2 separate regions of the Homo sapiens genome follow, and region 2 is linked to region 1. The links are contacts of gene promoters, found by promoter capture Hi-C in human tissues and cell types (Jung and others, 2019). All regions are on one chromosome and are shown on one strand. The core of a region is centred on a gene start or on the middle of the fragment in contact, and the rest is flanking DNA. Distances in the headings are between cores, read along the strand shown. Region 1 overlaps LOC124904784 (a long non-coding RNA gene). Region 2 holds the start of ZNF211 (zinc finger protein 211).

Region 1 (3,668 bases), core at 1,111-3,610:
GAGGGGGGAGGGATAGCATTAGGAGATATACCTAATGTTAAATGACAAGTTAATGGGTGCAGCACACCAACGTGGCACATGTGTACATATGTAACTAACCTGCACGTTGTGCACATGTACCCTAAAACTTAAAGTATATATAAATAAAAATAATAAAAAAAATAAATAAATAAATAAAAGAGACAGGGTCTTGCTGTGTCACCCAGGCTGGTGTGCAGTGGTGCAATCATAGCTTGCTGCAACCTTGGAATCCTGGGCTCAAGAAATCCCCCCACCTCAGCCTTCCAAGTAGCCGAAATCATAAGTGCACACCACCACACCCGGCTAATTAAAAAAAAACTTTTTTTGTAGAGACGGGGGTCTCACTGTGTTGTCCAGGCTGGTCTCGAACTTCTGAACTCAAGTGATCTTCCTGCCTTGGCCTCCCAAAGTGCTGGTATTACAAGGGTGAGCCACCACACCTGGCCTGATTTCCATGTTTGAACGGTTGCACTGGTTGAGTGTTGGGATGGTGTCATGAACAGAAGAGGAGATGATGATGAAAGCACTACTGTGTAGTTCAGTCAAGAAGTGTCATGACTTGGAACCGGATGAGTCAATGGAAGTAAAAAGGGGATCATTTCAATGTATGTTTAAGGTGGGCTCAGAATTTGGTGATTGATTCAAAATGGAAGTGGAAGGGTCCATGGCTACTGGCATGAGCAACTGTGATGCAATCCATGGACAGGAGAAACCTGGGAGAAGAGGAGGTAGAGCATGAGAGTAGAACTCAGTACTGACAAGGTATGGTTGTAAAATGAATAGACACTCCCAGCAGGCAGTATGAATATGGTGAAATATGTCCATGCTCAGAAAAGAATCTGGAATGAAGCTACAAATTGTGATTCATCAATGTTCAGATGGTGTTTGAAGCCAGCAGAATAAAACAGACCATACTGGTGGATGAGAGAAGAGGGCTCAGGACAAGCCCCCAAAGCACTGGGGTCCAGAAGAGCATCTTGAAAACAGCGTGAGGAGACTGGGCGCGGTGGCTCACGCCTGTAATCCCAGCACTTTGGGACGCTGAGGCTGGTGGATCACGAGGTTGGGAGATCGAGACCATCCTGGCTAACATGGTGAAATCCCGTCTCTACTAAAAATACAAAAAATTAGCTGGGCATGGTGGCGGGCGCCTGTAGTCCCAGCTACTCAGGAGGCTGAGGCAGGAGAATGGCGTGAACCCAGGAGGCAGAGCTTGCAGTGAGCCAAGATCGTGCCACTGCACTCCAGCCTGGGCGACAGAGCGAGACTCCGTCTCAAAAGAAAAAAAAAAAAAAAGAAAGAAAGAAAAAGAAAAGAGAGTGAGAAATGACTACTAGCAGAGATTGATCTATTTTCCTATCAGCCACCTGGAGAGACTGGGCTTATTCTTATTTGCTCAGTCGCTCCTGGCAAGACAGATTTGGAAACAAATCAACATGCTTTCGATGTGCTTAATACCAGCATTTTCTCTCCAGCTCTTAAAATTATGGTTTTTTAATTGATTGAACAAGCCATAATTTATTCAGTGAACAACTGTAGGGGATGTACAAATGTATCTGGTTTTTTTTTTTTTTTGGATTGTGAAACTATCATCAAAAGCAAAGAGATAACCAGGAAGGAAGACATTTGTCTGAAAACCATATGCCAGGCCAGGCGTGGTGGCTCATGCCTGAAATCCGAGCACTTTGGGAGACTGAGGTGGGTGGATCACAAGGTCAGGAGTTTGAGACCAGCTTGGCCAACACGGTGAAACCCCGTCTCTACTAAAAAAAAAATACAAAAATTGGCTGGGCATGGTGGCGTGTACCTGTAATCCCAGCTACCTGGGAGGCTAAGGCAGGAGAATTGTTTGAACCCAGGAGGCAGAGGTTGCAGTAAGCCGAGACTGCGCCACTGCCCTCCAGCCTGGGTGACAGAGGACGACTCCGTCTCAAAACAAAACAAAACAAAATAAAAACAACAACAACAAAAATGCCATCCTGAAAGTGGAAAGATTCACAAAGAATGAGCTTCATTTCTTCACATTTGGAAGAAACCAGGACTGTAAGGTCCACTTAGAGAAGCAGAAGGAGGACCAGGAGAGATGAGTCAAACAAATGATGCTTGAGGAACACTGATTCAGGAATGAGGTTGCAAGAATAAGAAATGCACAGCTAATGTTAAGTAGAATTCAAGCCTTCTTCCACTAAACAATATTCTTTTTTGTTTTGTTTTGTTTTGTTTTTGAGACAGAGTCTTGCTCTGTCACCCAGGCTGGAGTGCAGTGGCAGGATCTCAGGTCACTGCGAGCTCTGCCTCCCGGGTTCATGCCATTCTCCTGCCTCAGCTTCCAGAGTAGCTGGGACTACAAGCGCGCGCCACCACACCCAGCTAATTTTTTGTATTTTTAGTAGAGACGGGGTTTCACCGTGTTAGTCAGGATGGTCTCGATCTCCTGACCTCATGATCCACCCTCCTTGGCCTCCCAAAGTGCTGCCATTACAGGCATGAGCCACCGCGCCTGGCCTTGTTTTTGTTTTTTGAGACAGAGTCTCATTCTGTCACCCAGGCTGGAGTGCAATGGCATGATCTTGGCTCACTGCGACCTTCACCTCCTGGGTTCAAGCAATTCTCTGCCTCGGCCTCTCAAGTAGCTGGGATTCAGGCACCCGCCACCACACCTGGCTAATTTTTGTATTTTTAGTAGAGACAGGGGTGTCGCCATCTTGGCCAGGCTGGTCTTGAACTCCTGACCTTGTGATCCACCCACGTTGGCCTCTCAAAATGTTGGGACTACAGGCGTGAGCCACCGTGCCTGGCCCACTAAACAATATTCTTATCAATGAATACCACTACATACATGACTCATTGTAAAACAACATTCAGATTTAATAAACCATAAATGCACAGGGAAAAACCCCTGAAAATTATGATTTTGGGAATGCTTTTGGTCAAAACACTCAACTTCTTAGACTTGCAAACAGTTCAGTGTAGAAAAGCCTTATATATGAAATATACGTAGTAAATTTTTTAAGTGTAGCACAAGTCTCAGTCAATGTAAGCGAATTCATGTTAGAGAGAGTTGAGTTGAATGTAAGGAATGTGGAAAAGTGTATTCAGAGCTCCTCTCATCTTTGTTTTGAGAGCACTCACACAGTTGACAAACCCTCCAGATGTTCTGAATGTGAGAAATCCCTGTTTATGGTAAATACTTTCTGACATCAGAGAAGTCATACTGGAGAGAGACCATATAAATGTAGTATGTGTAAAGAAGTCTTTAAACAGAGCTCAACCCCACTGATGTATGAGCAAACTCTCTCAGGAAATAGACCTTACAAATGTGTTGAGTGTTGGAGAGTCTTTATTAAGAAATATTTCTTTCAGTATGTTTCAGAACTTATACAGGAGAACAATACTATAAATGTAATCGCTGTAGCAAAGGCTGTAGACACAAATTATACCTTATTCAATATGAGACAATTTATACTTGTGGGAAATTATATATTTGCAGTGAATTTAGGAAATTCTTCTAAAGAAGTGAACACTTTTACCCTATAGCTAAGAATCTATAGAGACACCTTATGAAGGGAATCATTCAGGGAAAGGTTTTACACTTTGCTCCTCCACTACTCAAAAATCACAGAAGACACACTGGAGAGCAAAGTGAT
Region 2 (3,911 bases), core at 1,283-3,782, 530 kb before region 1:
AAATTTACACAATTATACAAAACTTACTTAACCTATGCTTCATTACCTCATGAGGAGTACTGGGAAGTTTTGAGTACGTGCAATGGATGGAAACATTGAATTTGGACATAAAGAGTTGTGTCCTTTTTTTTTTTTTTTTTTTGGAGTCTTGCTCTGTCACCCAGGCTGGAGTGCAGTGGTACGATCTCGACTCACTGCAACCTTCACTTCCCAGGTTCAAGTGATTCTGATTCTCCTGCCTCGGCCTCCCGAGTAACTGGGATTACAGGTGCCACCACCACGCCCGACTAATTTTGGAATTTTTAATGGAGACGGGGTTTCACCATGTTGGCCAGGCTGGTCTTGAACTCCTGACCTTAGGTGATTCGCCCACCTCGGCCTCCCAAGGTGGGAGCAGCAATCACACCTGCTGGGATTACAGGTGTGAGCCACTGTGCCCAGCCAGTTATGTCATTTTTCACTAGTTTCTCAGTTGATTACCTGAAAGTATGAATTTTTAAAGCACAATAGGATTCAGCAGTCTCAGGTAGGAAAAAGGTAACCTGGAAAGATCCCTGCATGTGAATGCACACACAGCTTTCAGGGATCTGAGGAAATTCAGCATGTGTAGGATATAGAGGAGATACATGGTAGGAGGTGAAGCAATATGTAATGGTTGGTTCTGTAATATAGGCCCAGCCAAGAACTCTAACCTTTTTCCTAAAAACAATGACAAGCCCATTGTGAGATCTAACCAGATGTACAATAGTAGTCATTCCACTTATAAATTTTTGTAGTAAATGTGTAAACAAATACATTATATATTTGATAAAATCATTTCACAACTTTTAATTTTATTTTATTTTACTGGTATTAATTTGTCCTAAAGGATCATTTTTATTGTGAAACGTAAAATTTGATCTATCTAATATATATAAAATGTATATGTGTACATTTAACAATGTGCATATATGTACCTTAAAATAATATAAACTTTCTGGGCGACGGAGTGAGGCCCTGTTTAAAATAATGATAATAATTTGATATTTTATGCATTAAAAACTTTTGTCTGGGCATGGTGACTCATGCTTGTAATCTCAGCAGTTTGGGAGGCTGAGGCAAGAAGATTGCATGGCCCTAGGAGTTTGAGACTAGCCTGGGCCCTATAGGGAGACTCCATTCCTACAATAATTTTTTTTTTAACTAGCCGGGTGTGGTGGTGTGCTTGTAGTGCCAGCTACTCAAGAGGCTGAGGTGGGAGGATCACTTGAGCCCAGGAAGTGGAGGCTGCAATGAGCTATGATTGTTCCACTGTACTCCAGCCTGGACAACAGAGTGAGACCCTGTCTCAAAAAAAAATTAAATGTTTTGATTATACAAGGAAAATGAACATTCATGTATTAAAGCTTCATGTTTTATGAACAAAACTGACTTTGCAGGCAGGAGAGCGTTTTCTGGGGGCACCAGAAGCAGGGAACTTCCCTTGTCCGTTGGCTTCAGGGCTGCCCACTATCCCTCCACTATCTTCCCATTGTAGCCCTGTCTGGTGTCTTTTGTCCCTGACAAAACCTACAAAAAGTGACTTTAACACTTCAGGCTGCATGCATTTGAAGAGCAATAAGATAACGTTTTTTCGCTTCCCACTACCAGTGGAGATCTGCTGGGGTGGGCTGCATGGAATCTGAAATGATGTCTAAATACTGAAGTGAACCTCTACACTAGAGACTGATATACAGCTGACCCTTAAACGACGCAGGGGTCAGGGATACCGACCCCTGCGGAATTGAAAATGCTTGTATTACTTTTGACTCCCCTAGGTCTTAACTACTAATAGCCAACTGTTGCCCGGAAGCCTTATGAAGTTGCCCGGAAGCCTTATGAATTACATAAACTCCCAGTCGATTAACACATTTTGTATGATATATGCATGATATATGCATAATATATATGATATATGCATTTTGTATGATATATGCATTATATATATTTTAGTATAAGAACTATACTTGTACTAAAACAGACCAGAGAAAGGGTATCAGGAAAATTGTAAGAGGCTCGTTGACATTACACCCAATTAAAAAAAGGAAAATAAAAGAATACGGAAGGGAAAATACATTTACTAATCATTAAGTGGAAGTGGATCATCATAAAGGTCTTCATCCTTGTGTTCTTCATGCTGGGCAAGAGAATGAGGTCTTGCTGTCTCTGGGGCAAGAGGTCGGGGAGCTGGAAGAGGCAGGAAAAGGAGCACACTCGAAGTAACGTTTATTGGGGAAAAAAAACGCCTACGTGTAAATGGACCCGCACAGCTCAAACCTGTGTTGTTCAAGTGTCAACCTACTTAAGACCTCAAACACCGAAGCCCCTCAGTCGCCCTGGAAGGCAGCAGACGCAGCTTCCTAGCGCTCCCAGCTGTCTGCACACAAGGCGCCCTCCGTCGCAGCCTGGGGGAGACTACATTACCCAGAAAGCCTTGCGTCGAGCGGCAGTACTTTGATCCAATGAAAATCCAAGACAGGGGCATTTCCGTGTGGGTCTACCCCCGCCCCCCCCAGGGCGGGACTTGTGGCGTCTTCGCAGCGGTCATTTTGGCTGCCCTCCCGGAGGTCCGTTCTGTCTGTCAGCCGCTTTGGTACGCTGCATCGGGATCGAAGTGACGGACCGTGAAGGCGCGAGAGTCAGGTCTGAGGGTCGGGGGCAGAGCCGCCCGCGAGGCCGGCCTGGGGATAGCGATGCTCGGGTTCCCCCCGGGTCGCCCGCAGCTCCCGGTCCAGCTCCGCCCACAGACTCGGATGGCGACCGCACTGAGGGACCCGGCTTCGGTGAGCGCTGCGATCTCCGGGCCTCCCCCGGCCGAGATTCTTAAGTCCCAAGTGAGAGGCACCAGCTCACGTCTCTGTAGCACAGGGTCGGGGACACTGAGGCTCGTGGGTGGGGCCCCTATTTCTGACATCCGATGTGGTGGGCAGGGGGACAAGGGACAGGACCGGCGCGTGCAGGGCTTGGACGGGCAACCGAGAAGGGGGCATTCAGGAACCTGGGCTCCACATTGTTACTGCAGGGAACAAAGTTTGAGAGAGATCTACCTTTATTCTTAGGGCCGTGGGAGCCATAGAGAGCTTGCGCAAACGAGAGACACCATCTGAGTTAAATTTGAAAAATCCTCTGCAGGCTGTTCAGTGGAAGAAAAGACTTTAGAGATGGATGAGGACGTTGAGGCAGAGGGAGGTTGAATATTTTTCCAAGGCCACACAACTGGTGAGAGGCAGCACTAAGGACCGAGGCGCACAGGTTAGACAGTCGACCCAAAGTTACGTGGCTCTGGGCCGGGGCAAGGGTACAGGGAAGGCCTGTGCCCATGGAGCACTGCCATGATCACATTCCTCTGAGGCCTGCGTCTTTCCACAGGTTCCCATAGCTACAGAGGTGCTTTTCAAACTTACACAGGTAAGTGGAGGTATCTCAGCCCCTCACTGGTCTGGAATGTCCCTCCACCCTCCCCAGACAGATATTTTCTTTAGATTTGTGGTGTCATGGGACTCACCTACCATTCTCTCAGCGTTTGGTTTGGGAACCCTGGAGAATCCCTGAGCTAAGGGCCCTGAGTCCAGGCCAATGTTTCCATTTGGAGCAGCCAATGGAAAGATGGGTGAAAATTTATGATAGAAACAGGTAGGTACCAGCTTTTGGAACTCCTTGGAGGTGAGGCTGAGCTGGTTCAGGGAACTGCAGGTTTCCTTTATTTCTGTGAAGTTTGGCATCTATTGTGAGGAAGTTGGAGTTTGGGATCAGAGGAGGGAGATTTATCTAACCCAAGTGTTGACAGGATACAGAGTGGAAAACAGAATGAACACAGTGACTAATGGGAATGTGAAGAGACAGCAGGGATCAATGACACCAAGGTCTGGTGTCTCTTCTGACTTGGGGATCTT

What was found. Contacts are between HindIII fragments. The study calls those that stand out against the background at their distance.
Region 2: the fragment with the promoter of ZNF211 here is called in contact with a fragment that was not itself captured in region 1 in 1 of the 25 tissues and cell types used here (dorsolateral prefrontal cortex).

What each region holds. Positions count from the first base shown.
Region 1 is chr19:58,163,173-58,166,840 of GRCh38, forward strand. All of the region lies in intron 1 of LOC124904784 (a long non-coding RNA gene), which reads left to right. Among named protein-coding and RNA genes, the nearest start is that of ZNF329, 14 kb to the left of the region's middle. The HindIII fragment of the contact is 6,997 bases long and covers 1-3,668 here.
Region 2 is chr19:57,630,636-57,634,546 of GRCh38, forward strand. It overlaps ZNF211 (zinc finger protein 211), which reads left to right and starts at 2,533. Exons shown (of 4, transcript NM_006385.5): 1 at 2,533-2,801; 2 at 3,388-3,426. The coding sequence starts at 2,712. RefSeq lists enhancers at 2,133-2,222, 2,293-2,342 and a silencer at 2,783-2,852. The HindIII fragment of the contact is 12,794 bases long and covers 1-3,540 here.